2 separate regions of the Homo sapiens genome follow, and region 1 is linked to region 2. Evidence: promoter capture Hi-C in 16 types of primary human blood cells and fetal thymus (Javierre and others, 2016). All regions are on one chromosome and are shown on one strand. Each heading gives the region's core, a stretch centred on a gene start or on the middle of the fragment in contact. The rest is flanking DNA. Distances are from core to core; before and after follow the strand shown. Region 1 overlaps POSTN (periostin). Region 2 holds the start of CSNK1A1L (casein kinase 1 alpha 1 like).

Region 1 (6,294 bases), core at 51-2,550, 460 kb after region 2:
CCTCAATAACAGGGGCTTATCAAAGGGGAAGAAAATATACTTACCTGAAATTTAATCCTAAATGAATTAAAGCAATATAAACTGATGCAGCTACTAATTTATTGATTCCCTAAAAAGCACTACCATTCTACAAAGCTGCTTACTATGGCAAGGACTGAAAGAAAAAAAAAAGAATTCAATTTAATCTTCATAATGTGTTTGTCTCTTCCCTCAAATCCTTAGATTTTTTTCCTAGCAGACAGTTGAGCATTTAGGGGTAGATAGTGAATTCTTTGTTAGATCCTACAGGAATCTTTGGTTCCGTTATGGCTCTGTTGTGCTATGTACTCTTAGAATTCTGGGAGGAAACTTGTATTTTTCAGACATATATATTTCTATTGAGGGAAAATTCAATCATTGGTTGAATTAAAAATTTTTAAACTATCACTGACAAGTTTCTAAATACTATTTAAGAGATTTTACGTTTATTAAACTACAGAATATAGAAATAATAATTGCTAAAAATATAGAAAGTCCCAAGATAATTTACATTTTCTTGGACATAGTGATACAGTTTTAAAAAGTATAAGCTGAAAAGCCATCTGGACTGTGTTTTGGATAAACATCAAACTTCAGTTATGTTTCTCAATTAATAGTATATTTCAAAGTGCCTATTTGGTTTTTCTAAAGAATATAAATACATGTTTCACAAAAAATAATTTTTCAGCTTAATTCTTTCCTTGTTAAAAAATGAAGTAGAAATTTGTTTATTCAAATGCCAATGATACAAATTATGTATCTATATAAACAACATCTTTGAATAATTACTATGTAGGGTTTGTGTAAGATTTTGAATTCTTTTTTTTTTGTTCTTAAGGTTCATTTAATGCCACAGACAGAGAACATTCCATAAAAGATTAAGATTAATTTTATATGCAAAATAACTTATATCTACAGGTATAGATTATCACTCAAACTGTTAGAAGAAACAGATATTCATTCCCAAGAATATAGTTTTGGAAAAGAATGTTACTAAATGCACTATTTTTGGCTATATCTATGTATAGAATTTAAAGACATGCCTTGATTGCTCTTATGGGGGCAGTGAATATAATTTTTTAAATATAAAAAGTATATCAAATTTGGGCTTGTTTAACAGCTAGCAATTTAACAATTATTTCCCTTTTGCATACTTAAAAGGCCCTTAAAATTATCTGAATCAAAGCAAAAAAAATATTCATTGCTCCCCAAACTTTATACCATAGAACTTTTTAAAGACTGTTTAAACTAGTAATCATTTCTTCATAACTATTAACTACCATTGAACCAATCCATCTATTAAGACAACAGTGGATGTTGTCTTTTTTTTTTTTAACCCAATTAAAAGAAAAAATCTGCTTGCTCAGTCTTTAAAAAGTTGAACTCAGTCACTAGAACCTGTTAAGGGGGTTAGTTGTTGTCCTTTTACTAACCTCCCTGAAGCAGTCTTTTAATTTCTTCATCTTCAAATAAATGACCATCACCACCTTCAATGAATTTGGTGACCTTGGTGACCTCTGAGAGGATACATGTTTATAGCAGAAATTGGTTTATATAACAAAATAAAGACAGCAGACTTTATGTCATAAATAATGGCATCTGCCCAATAATGAATTCCAGCCCAACACTCGATTCTTTCACAAATTTTAGTGCTGTTTTCTGACATACTAATATTCTTATAAAGTTGTTGAACAAAATACTGTATAAAAAATATGACTGCCATTTATGCTTAATTCCTTATTCTTGTGCTTTTTTCTTGTTGGTATGGAAATGAACAATAGATTGAGATAGAGTAGAAAACATGTAGAATGTTATTTTAGACTTGTATATGGATAGCTTAGGTAAAGTCACATTCTTATTTTCCTAGAAATGCTGACCTTCTTGTAACAATTTCTTCAGAGTTTCTTCTGTTTCTCCACCTCCAGTAGAAATCCTAGTGTATTTTATTTCAGGACCTATGAGAAGGACAATGAAAAAGGTCTAAAACAGAAGTAGGCAAACTTCTTCTGCGAAGTGACAGAGAGTAAGTATTTTACACTTGTGGGCCATGTAGTCTGTGTTGCCATTGTTCAACTCTGATACTTCAGTGTGAAAGCAGCCTTAGGTATTATATAAATGGATGGGAAAGACTGTGTTCCGATAAAACTTTATTTCCATAAATGGGTGGCACAAGCCACACTTGCTCACTAATTGTTTAAACAAATACTTAAAGAATAGCTGAATTAAGGATTTTCGGCGAATTTTAGGCTAATTTGGACCAACTGGACGCTAGTTTGGAAGTCTGATATGAGGTTTACTGAAAATATTGATCAATTGCTTTGTATAAACTTGCTTCTATTTTGGCAGGTAGATGTACAGACCTTAAGATTAATGGAAGCTCAAATGAGGAAATGGCTTTTCTTCTAGGGTCCTCTAACTCATTAACAAACAGTAAAGTGAAAATGGAATATCATATCAATGGTATATCATATTACATGTATGTATGCATACATGTAATAAAAACAAATGCTTTTAGATTTGTCTACAAATTTTCAATTCAGAGTAAAACATAGATTACATATTTAGAATAATATTATATCTGCCAAAATATGAAGTAACTTTAGTAATCACTATGAAAATGACTTGTTTCTTTAATGATTCTTATATTTGGGGATTAACTATAATTTGATCTTTATAATCTAGGCATAGATCCATGTATGGAATTAATGGCTACCTGTAATGATTCGTTCTTCTCGTGTCTCTTTTTCAGTTATTTCCACAGGCACTCCATCAATGATTTTGGTGTATTTTTTAATAATTGGCTCTAAAAGCAGGGGAATACAAATGCATTTGATTTACCCTCATATTGTGACTATACATCCATAAGCTAGACATTGTAATGATTAACTATATTTCTACAAATATTACCATTTAAGATTCAATCATAAACATTTTTAGAACATATCCCCCAAAAATCATATCAATAGGGATCTAAAAGGTAATAGCTATGTCCTGAATCTTGGTTGAGAGAGAGGGCCATTTGACATCCTAACTCTCCATGTCATACTTGTTTTCTGGATGTGGAATAAATACTTAGTGAGAATCCAGGGAGTTCTATATCATTGGAATGGGAGCCCTATCATAAATCCTAGTAGTGGAGTGGCTTATTAGACAGAGACTTATACAATGGTCATTTTTTCCTACTGTTTCTAATATTTCCTTTTATACTGACATTAATGTTACAATTTTATTCCACAATCCTCACTTGTATATGCAAAAATCATGACATTTTGTTGGGCCCAGTGACTTAATAGATAAATTAATTCCAACTAGATCCATTAAAAGCTAACTATGTTTTATTTCTGACCAGCTAATAAGAACTCATAGCTGAGGAAATAATTCCCACAATTTTTATAAAATAAGAACTAAGAGAAAATATCAGATGTTCAATATTTCTAAACCAACACTATTTCAAAATAATCACAGCGAAGGTAGTCGGCCCCAGGTAACATAAGGAACGCACCTCCATGGATCACTTCAGTTATTGTTTCACCTTCTTTAATCAGTCTGAATTCAGGTTCACCTTCAATTTTGACTTTTGTTAGTGTGGGTCCTGGGACATTATTTTAGGAGACAAATTATCATGTTAAAACAGTCCTTTAAATTTACCGGAATAGGACATTTATTTCAACATTCGGTGTGACTCAACTCAAATGTCAAAGTGGTTTCAGGCTCTATGAAATCACTTTTAAATATTTCCCATTGTCTTCAAATTAGACAAGAGTTATGAGAACAAATGATTTAGTCTGTTTGTGTGCTACTAAAATTACTTTCATCTGCTTTAGCTTTTAAACAGATGGATAAATCCATCTGTTTATTCGTAGTTATAAAGTATGATTATGCAAAATATTATATGTGGCTACACTTTGCAGATCATGCAGTATGTACACATTTGTGTTTCTCTGATAACTGGTGTAGATCCCACTTTATCATACTGATATTGTCTATTACTTTTTCCTTATTAAAATTTTTCATTTAAGTTTTAAAATCACTCAGTACCTTATATTTTTGATCTAGTGGGTATAGGAGTGAACATAAGAAAGTACCAAATGTATACCTACCTTTAAGATGCTGAATGTCAGGTTTTATGAGGAAAATAATTTGAGTACTTACCTTCTGTATGGGAATGATACACAATTAACCAGTTAATAGTTAAACAGTCCTTCAAATGCAAAAGATAAACTAGTGTTGCATTTGACTTGCAAAATGATTTTGCTACCACAGAAAATCATTTTGAAGGTTAGAAAGCTGCTTACTACATTAGTTAATTAAGACTGTTTCACAGAGGAGTAAGAAAAATAAGTTCAGTACATTTAACTCATACTGTAATAGCCTTCAATAGTGGAATGCAACTGTTGCTTGCTTATCTTTGAGAGCATTTTTTTTTGCTTGTTCAGAAATTGTCAATGTACATGATTACCAAAACGAAACCAGCCTAGAACAATCCAAAATAATGAAAATAAAAGTAAAGTTTTTTGAAACCATAAGTATTTCATGCCATAATATTTGATATATAAGGCCAAGGGATATTGAGCACAAAACATAAAGCCAGGTTTTTAAGGTGCGGTAACTTCAAAAGAAAGGACGCCTAAGGAATTTAAGAACCAAAAATGCGTTAATAAAATATCTAAATCAATATTTCTTTAGAAAAGCCAAACTGAAATTTTGGAAACATCCTTTATAGTTAAGCTCTATAAAAGAAGAGATTTTCTCAAAATTGTTTTCCTATTTACTCCCAACACCTCAGAAAGTACCCAGCAGAATAGCTGCTCAATAACTATTTGTTGAATTGAATTTTAGCTGATTTATTCTTAATTCCAAAATGCTGTTATGTATCTTTTATAAGAGACACCTTAAAATTGTGTCCTGGAGTTTAATTCATTTAGTAAGAATTTAAAAGTCATCAATAAATCTGTAATTGTTCAAATAGTAAGAAGGAAATGCCAGTAGCAATCCTGGAAGCTGGACCATTGTAAATTACTACTAAGATAAATATTTGTTTCCTTCATTATGCTACACAGGAGTGTAATTTCTGAACTCAAGTTATTAATGAGTAGGTGACACAACTCCATTTTTCATCCATGTTCCCTTTATAAGAAGAAGCCATGTAGAGATGACCCGCCAGTATGATCTTAACTGAATAAAGATTAGTAGGATAGAATCCTACTGACAAAGATTGAGGAGATAAATAAGTTGAATAAAGAAGCTTCAAAGGAGAAGAATCTTTGAAAATAAGAACATTGGCACATGTAAATAATTTCAGGTAAAGAAGCTGTGCACAATTATAGTGCAAAATTTTAGGGAATCTGATTTTTAAAAACAGGACAAGATTTGATTTTAAAATCAATTGTATTATCAAAGATCATTGTGTCATGTTTTATTACAATGATCAAGGAACATTTTTTCAACAAAACTTTCTGATTTAATTTCTTCTTAAAATACCGAATTGTCTTCATCACTATAGAAAGTCGATTAAATAATTATAATTATAGTATTTTTTTCAAGAAAAAAACAAGGATAGATTTCAAAGAATAACTCAATTTTAAGTCTCAAGAATAAATACTAATATAGATAACTAATTAGCTAGGAAATAAGTTTTTACCTATGTATTTTCAGTGTATAAATTTAAATTAATGACTTACTTTAAAAAATATAGATAAAAGTATTCAAGAAGTTACCTTCTCAAACCACCAAAAGAAATAGCAAAACCAAACATAAGTATAATTACAGTTTCCCAAAGATTCCATCAAAGATATAATCTGTTCTCTTTTTGGAAGACTGTTTCTAGCTTTCTTATAGCACAAAGGAGATAACTAGTTCTTTTCTCTGGGTAAGTTGCTACATTAAGATGCTTATACATGGAAATCTTAAAAAATTTAAATTGTGATCCTTGGACATAATTAAAATACATGAAATGAAAGTAACATCAAAGATGTTGAAGTTGGCTAACATACATAGTGGGAGTAGAGAGAAAAGTAACTGCTTATTTAATGTTCTAGTCTGAAACATCAGGAGAGAATGTGTGTGTGTGTCTGTATTATATATATCTCATGTATAATATATACGTCTGTATGTAATAATATGTTCAGGGCTGGAATTAAGTATTTTAAAAATCAATTCACTGCATAAACTACTCATTTTGTTTTATAATTCTGATGGTCTAATTAAAAAATATCTCATGCGTGGTTGTAATTTTAAAAGCTTTCAGTAAACATAGCTTCTATGCTATCTTATGTT
Region 2 (6,136 bases), core at 1,988-4,487:
CTTTTACATAAACTATACTCAAAAATAGCTTTATGAGACTGATTTCTGGAAAGGGCTTAATAGCTAAGAAACGAATACCTTAACTAACAAGGGTGGATAGAAAGAAACAAAGAAGCTTCCTACCCCCAACATTTGGATTTGTTAAGATTTCTTCAGCATTATAGTACTAATATATCCCTTAATGGCAGAATGTGGTAATCATGGAATTAATTATTGCTGAAGTAGTTTTCAAATGAAAAAGAGAAAAAAATAAATGAAACCTGACACAATCTGACCAAACGTGGCAATTTACAATTTCAAGGTTATTTTACAAAATGCCTACATTTACACAATAGGCTCCTGGCAGCATTTTCAGACAAATGTTCTTTTAATTTATCCTGACATGCTATAAGTGAATAAATTACACGATTTAAAGAATTAAAAGGAAAATGAGTTTTCCTTTATCTTGCATCAGAGAAAAAGAAAAGAACGTGCAAAAAGATTGAGAGGAAGAGCACGCACACACAGATAATTCAGAGAAGCAGACGGGGGTTAGGGAGGGTCAATGATCACAGAACCTCACAGTGTGCTCTCCAAGGGTAAAAGTCAACTGCTTATAGCCATTTCACAAGTATTTTAAACAACAATGTTTTGTAGTCAAACCCTTCAATGCTTGCATTCTTATTTGAAATCAGCCCAGCTATTAGTCAGTGGAAGAAGTAACAATACCAAGTTTTGGCAGGTGCAGTACTAGATATTTTACCACAAGTCATTAGAAAAAGAAAAATGAAAGAATACATTTCCCCTTCATACAAAACGATTATTTTAGAATAAAAACATTGAAAAAAGTTATATAATGAAATAAAATTTACTTGCAAGGGAATATCATGTAACAAATGGCTCGAAGTTGACTATCAAAAAATTGGGGAGATTTTTATTTCCTAGTGAATCAGCAAGGCATTTTTTGGTTGTTGTTTAAAAAAGTATTATTTCCTTATAGAAACAGTTTTCAGATTTTAGTGAACTTGTAAAACATAAAAGCTCCCATTTCAAAATATGAACAAAATCCCAGATCATATGGGTGTTTACGGTGATTACATTTATCTAAGCCATGTACATACATGTTCAGTTGTAAGATGTTAACTAAATTTCTGTGACAAATATGGTTGTTGTTGTTTTTAAAATACCGAGAACATGATATAGTTAATGTGGAATTCTAAAGATAATCTGGTAGTTACTAAGATTTTCTTATGTCTTCACAGGTAAGCAGGCGGAATCTTTCCTATTCTCAAAACTGGAATTTTTGGTTACTACTAGATCAGCTGGCTTACAGACAAGAAGCCAACCATTTTAAGAATGCTCTTTATGTGAACAATTTGCAAACCCCAGGGATGGAGAAACCCTAAAAATGCTCAATCATAAGCATTTACAACCTTTGCAGCTGTGGCTGAATACTGTCCTTCTGAAATGATATCTCAAAGCAGTCTAGTTCAAAATAAAAGGTTTTAACAAAAAATTGGCATATGGACAATGTCTCCACCAATTCGTGTGTGTCAACCATTTAGTTAACTTTTCTACTTGAATAAATGCAATAGAAAACCAGACACCACGTTTCACTACCTCAGTTAATATTCACAATTACAGAGGCTACACTTTGGGATACAGCATCACCAACGCTCCCCAGAGTCAGTTTATATTGAAATAAAGTTTTTTACACCAACTAAATGGTTGTTCACAGCCACTAGCTGGTGTACATATGAACTACAATTTCTAGATGTGGGGAGAAACAAATGCTGCTCGAATCATCTGCTCTGCTTCTTCTGTTCCTCATTCACGCTTAGTTATCTTTCACATTATTCTTGTTTTTTTCAGTTTGCTTGCCTGTCTGGGTTTGGGCCTGCTGACCCTGCCCACTGGAAGAGGCTGCCTGCTGTGCTGCTTTCTGCTTTAACATCGTCCAATCAAATGTGTAGTCATATTGGTGGTTCAGGGTCCTGAAAAGAATGCGGAATAGCTGCCTCAGATACATGTAATCTGGGACTTCCTCAAAGCGCAGCCCACGACAGTAGTTCAAGTACATGGCGAATTCTGCAGGAAACCCCTTACATAAAACTTCAACAGGGGTGGACATCTTCTTCTCACTAATCTTTTCATATTTTTGTTTTTTTGTCATAGCCCTTAGTCCTTGCCACGGCAGGCTGGTTCTATTAAAATACATGAAAACGTAGCCTAAGGATTCCATGTCATCTCGGCGGCTCTGCTCAATACCAAGATGTGCATTGATGCTGGCATATCGGACAGTGCCAATGAGGTGTTTATCTTCTCTGTACGGTATGTGTTGCCTGGTCCTGTTGTCTCTGTACTTTTTGGCCAAACCAAAATCAATAAGGAACAACTTATTACAGTGACGCCCAGTACCCATCAGGAAGTTATCTGGTTTAATGTCTCGGTGTAGAAAATTCTTTGTATGCACGTATTCAATTCTGCTGATCATCTGGTCGGCTAACATAAGTACAGTTTTCATGGTGAACCTTCTTGAACAGAAATTAAAGAGGTCTTCGAGGCTGGGTCCCAGAAGGTCCATGACTAGCACATTGTTGTCTTTTTCCTGACCATACCAGTGCATGTGGGGGATGCCAACCCCACCTTGAAGAATCGTGTAGAGTTTGCTCTCATACAGCAACTGGGGGTGCTTGACCTTCTGAGATTCCAGCTTCACTGCTACGTCCTCGCCGTTGGTGGTGGTGATGCCCAGATAAACGTCTCCAAAGGAGCCAGACCCGATCTTCCGCACCAGTTTGTATTTCCCTCCCACAACGAGTTCGGCTTTGGAGCCGCTGTTGTTTGTCATCCTGAGAGGCAAAGATGGAGGCTGGGCTCAGCCCTGACCCCTCTAGGGGAGGATGGAGGCCTCCGGGGCCCACCGGCCCGCAAGGCTGAGGATGAGGGCTGCTGGAAATGGCCACCGAGGCGTTTCCCGGTGTTACAGGGCGTGGAGTCAGCCTGATCCCTGCAGCACACCAGGATTTCCGCCAGGCCACAGTTTGCGAGGGTTTCTCAAGGTTCCAGGCTGGGCCACCACCTCTTTCTCGGTGGCGGTCGCTGCCTCGCTGTCGTGGCGATGTCGTGGGCTGAGAAAGGGGGCACAGCGAGTTGGGGCAGCAGTACTGCTGCCACCGCTACCAACGGCTGTGGGCCAGAGGGCCCGGTCACGCCGCCGGCGCCGCCATTTTGTTCCTCCACCTCAGCCAACCACAAATCGAGAATTTTTGGAGAAGCTGTTATTGTCTGAGACCTCTGTTAGGTGTTCCACTCATCTCACTCCATTTAAGACAAACTTGCTAGTCTTGTAAGGTAGCTATTATTTTCCCTGATTTGTTGGGTAAGAAAGGCTGAGTCTCAGGTAAGCGGCCTAAGGTTGCAAGAGATTGTGGGCGAGCTGGAATTCAAAACTGCCTAGGCTTAACTCGAAGCTCACCTTCTTTCAACTTAATCGTGCAGAAATGGGAGGCTTTTATAACAAAGATTTTCTTGTTTTCGGGCCCAGTCATTGTCCCATCTACTTCCTTAGCCATCATGTCTCCCTGGGTTAATGCGAGTCGGGGTGCCACCTCTTGAGGTTTTTCTGTGTGATCTCAGTGGTTGCTTCTTTAATGAGTTTAGTCAACAAGAGTTACTTACTGCTAGTTAAATTGAAATGTCTTTTTTTTTTTTTTTAAAGCGATCCTTTTGAAATTTTTTCATAGAGTGCTTTGAATTTAAATAGGATTCCACAGAGACGTTCTGGCAAAACTGACTAAATGAAGGATTCAAGTAAAATTTAACCAAAATATGGAGAAGAAACAGAAGCCGGCAGTTCTGAGCATTTTCTCAGAAGAACTGGGGCCAGCACTAGCAGAAAAAGCGGTACCATTTCAATATTTTTATGAAAGTTCACATCACAAATAACAAAACCCGTGCGATTATTTTGTTTTATGAGGAGATGGGATAGGAACTGAGTATAATCCTAACGGGGCAGTAGCAACGAATTTGGGGGCCAATGGCAGAAAGGCAGGAGAGAGAGGTGCAGCTTTGAAAGCAGGTATTCTCACTTTACTGTCTCACATAAGTTAGTGCTGTTAACTTTTCTGACCTGCATCAATCTATGGCGAGAGAAGGAGCTGGTTTGAGACATAGACGGGCATAGAACATTATAAAGTGCTTTAAAACATTTTTAAAGTCCACTTCAGACAAATATGTGAGGTGGGTAGCGCAGTATATTACTTGGCTTTGCAGCAGGAACAACTCGCAAATCTCAGTGGCTTACAATGACAAAGTTTATTTATCATTCAGGTTTTATGTAAGCTGTAGATCAGCTGCATCTCTGCTTCCTGTGTCCTCTTTGTTCTAGAATGCAGGCTGAAAGAGCAGCCTCCTTAGGAGCATGCTGTTCTCATAATAAAAGGAGTGGCAAATGTTACATTCCACTGGGCAAAACACATCACATGGCCAGGTCCAAAGACAGTGGGGTGAAAATACATACTCCTACCTCAGGTGGATAGTAATACAGTATACTGCTGGCATATTTTATTATTATGATTGTACTTCTCATTTTATACAAGTGGAAATCAAGGCATAGAGAGGTTAGATGAATTGCCCAAGACCACACTACAGACAAGTGTCAGAGGCCAATTTGAAACTGAATTCTGACCCAAGGTAGTTACTTTTTATACCGTACCAACTAGAATGGCATTTCTTTCATTTACTCATCCAACTTTGTTGAAATTTGCCTGGAGAACAATTTCCTTTCTAATAACCAAGAATAAAATTTATGTTGTTAACCCACTGCCCATTATGCTTCCTTCCCGTTCAGTCTTCCAGTCAATGGCTTCAACACGAACCTTGAAATTCAAATAATCTCTATGTGAGAGAAGTCACTATTCAAAAAAGTTACAGATAACCCATACATGGACAAAAGCTTGAATCAAAAAATCCCCTTTCAATTCTGGAACTAGAATAGTTTAATTATAGTTTATTTATTGTTTACTAAGTCCCATACTTTTTTGTACCAGTTAAATAAAGGCACTGTCTATAAAGAAGGTCAAGTGTAACTTATAATGGTGGTTGGGTGAACCTTCACTTACAGGGAAGTTGTGAGCATCTCCAGAATGGGGAGGATCAGTAACTGAAGTGATGATATGACCCTGAATAGCTTCCAATCCAGTCTCCCATGAATTCTCTTACCACAAGCCGGTGGGACTGCGGATTTTTCCCCGAACACATACTCCCTGCATTTTTTCATCTTTGGGTCTTGGCTTATGGTGTTGTTTCCTCAGCCTGAAATGCTTCCAGCCTGCTTTATCTTTCCCATCGCCCAGGTCTAATCCTAATAATCTCAGGGCTCTTCCTTAAATGCTGTTTGCTCCATGAAACCTTTTCCAATCTCCTCAACCAAATATAAATACTCTTTTTAAACCCAAACAACACTTTGCTTAAACTCTTGCATCCCCTCCTACCCTTTTGTCCAAAATTTTTCCATAAAAGATGTGCAACAAATAGTTTTTAAAATGGAAGTAAATTGAACTACTGTATTTCATAAAGTTTTGTGGACAGTGTGTGGGGTTGATGCATTCTTTATTTATTCATTCATTCAACAAATAGTTATTGAATGCCTCCTATTTGCAGGCATGAGTGACTCACCAAAGGTGGCATAGGTAGGTAATGATGGATTCAGAATGGAAATCCAGGATAGCCTGCCTCCAAAGCCAGTACTTTTAACCCCTACATAGACATCAACAGCCAGAGGCTCCTGAACGCTGGGTGGCTTCACTGTTGGGAATATATTAGTTCTGTTTCTTTTCTTTAATTGTATAAAGTATTTTACCAATGCATTTTAAAGCTATGATTTAGCCTTGATTTCAAAATTGCCTCTAAAATAATTTCTATTAATATAAGATGACCCCAGTAAAAGTAAAATAACGTATTCTGGGCAGGATTGTACTGGGTAGTATTGTACTGTTTAACAGCCAATTCGGGTTTTGTCAGTCCTGAACTTTATACAATTTTTTTTGTGGCCCTCTTTAAGAAAACAACAACAACAACAACAACAAGAACAACAACAAACAGGCATGAAATATTTAACTTAGGAAAAGAAATCATTGCAATTTACCTGAGTGTT

The links. The method cuts DNA at HindIII sites, captures the fragments that hold promoters and counts their contacts. A CHiCAGO score of 5 or more calls a contact.
Region 1: a contact is called between a fragment that was not itself captured here and the fragment with the promoter of CSNK1A1L in region 2, in 1 of 17 cell types (endothelial precursors). The highest score is 7.4, in endothelial precursors.

Annotation. Positions count from the first base shown.
Region 1 is chr13:37,567,849-37,574,142 of GRCh38, forward strand. It overlaps POSTN (periostin), which reads right to left. Exons shown (of 23, transcript NM_006475.3): 18 at 3,521-3,610; 19 at 2,732-2,821; 20 at 1,896-1,973; 21 at 1,452-1,535. Among named protein-coding and RNA genes, the nearest start is that of POSTN, 28 kb to the right of the region's middle. The HindIII fragment of the contact is 7,922 bases long and covers 1-5,261 here.
Region 2 is chr13:37,102,427-37,108,562 of GRCh38, forward strand. It overlaps CSNK1A1L (casein kinase 1 alpha 1 like), which reads right to left and starts at 3,238. Exons shown (of 1, transcript NM_145203.6): 1 at 833-3,238. The coding sequence starts at 2,830. The coding sequence ends at 1,817. The HindIII fragment of the contact is 4,821 bases long and covers 114-4,934 here.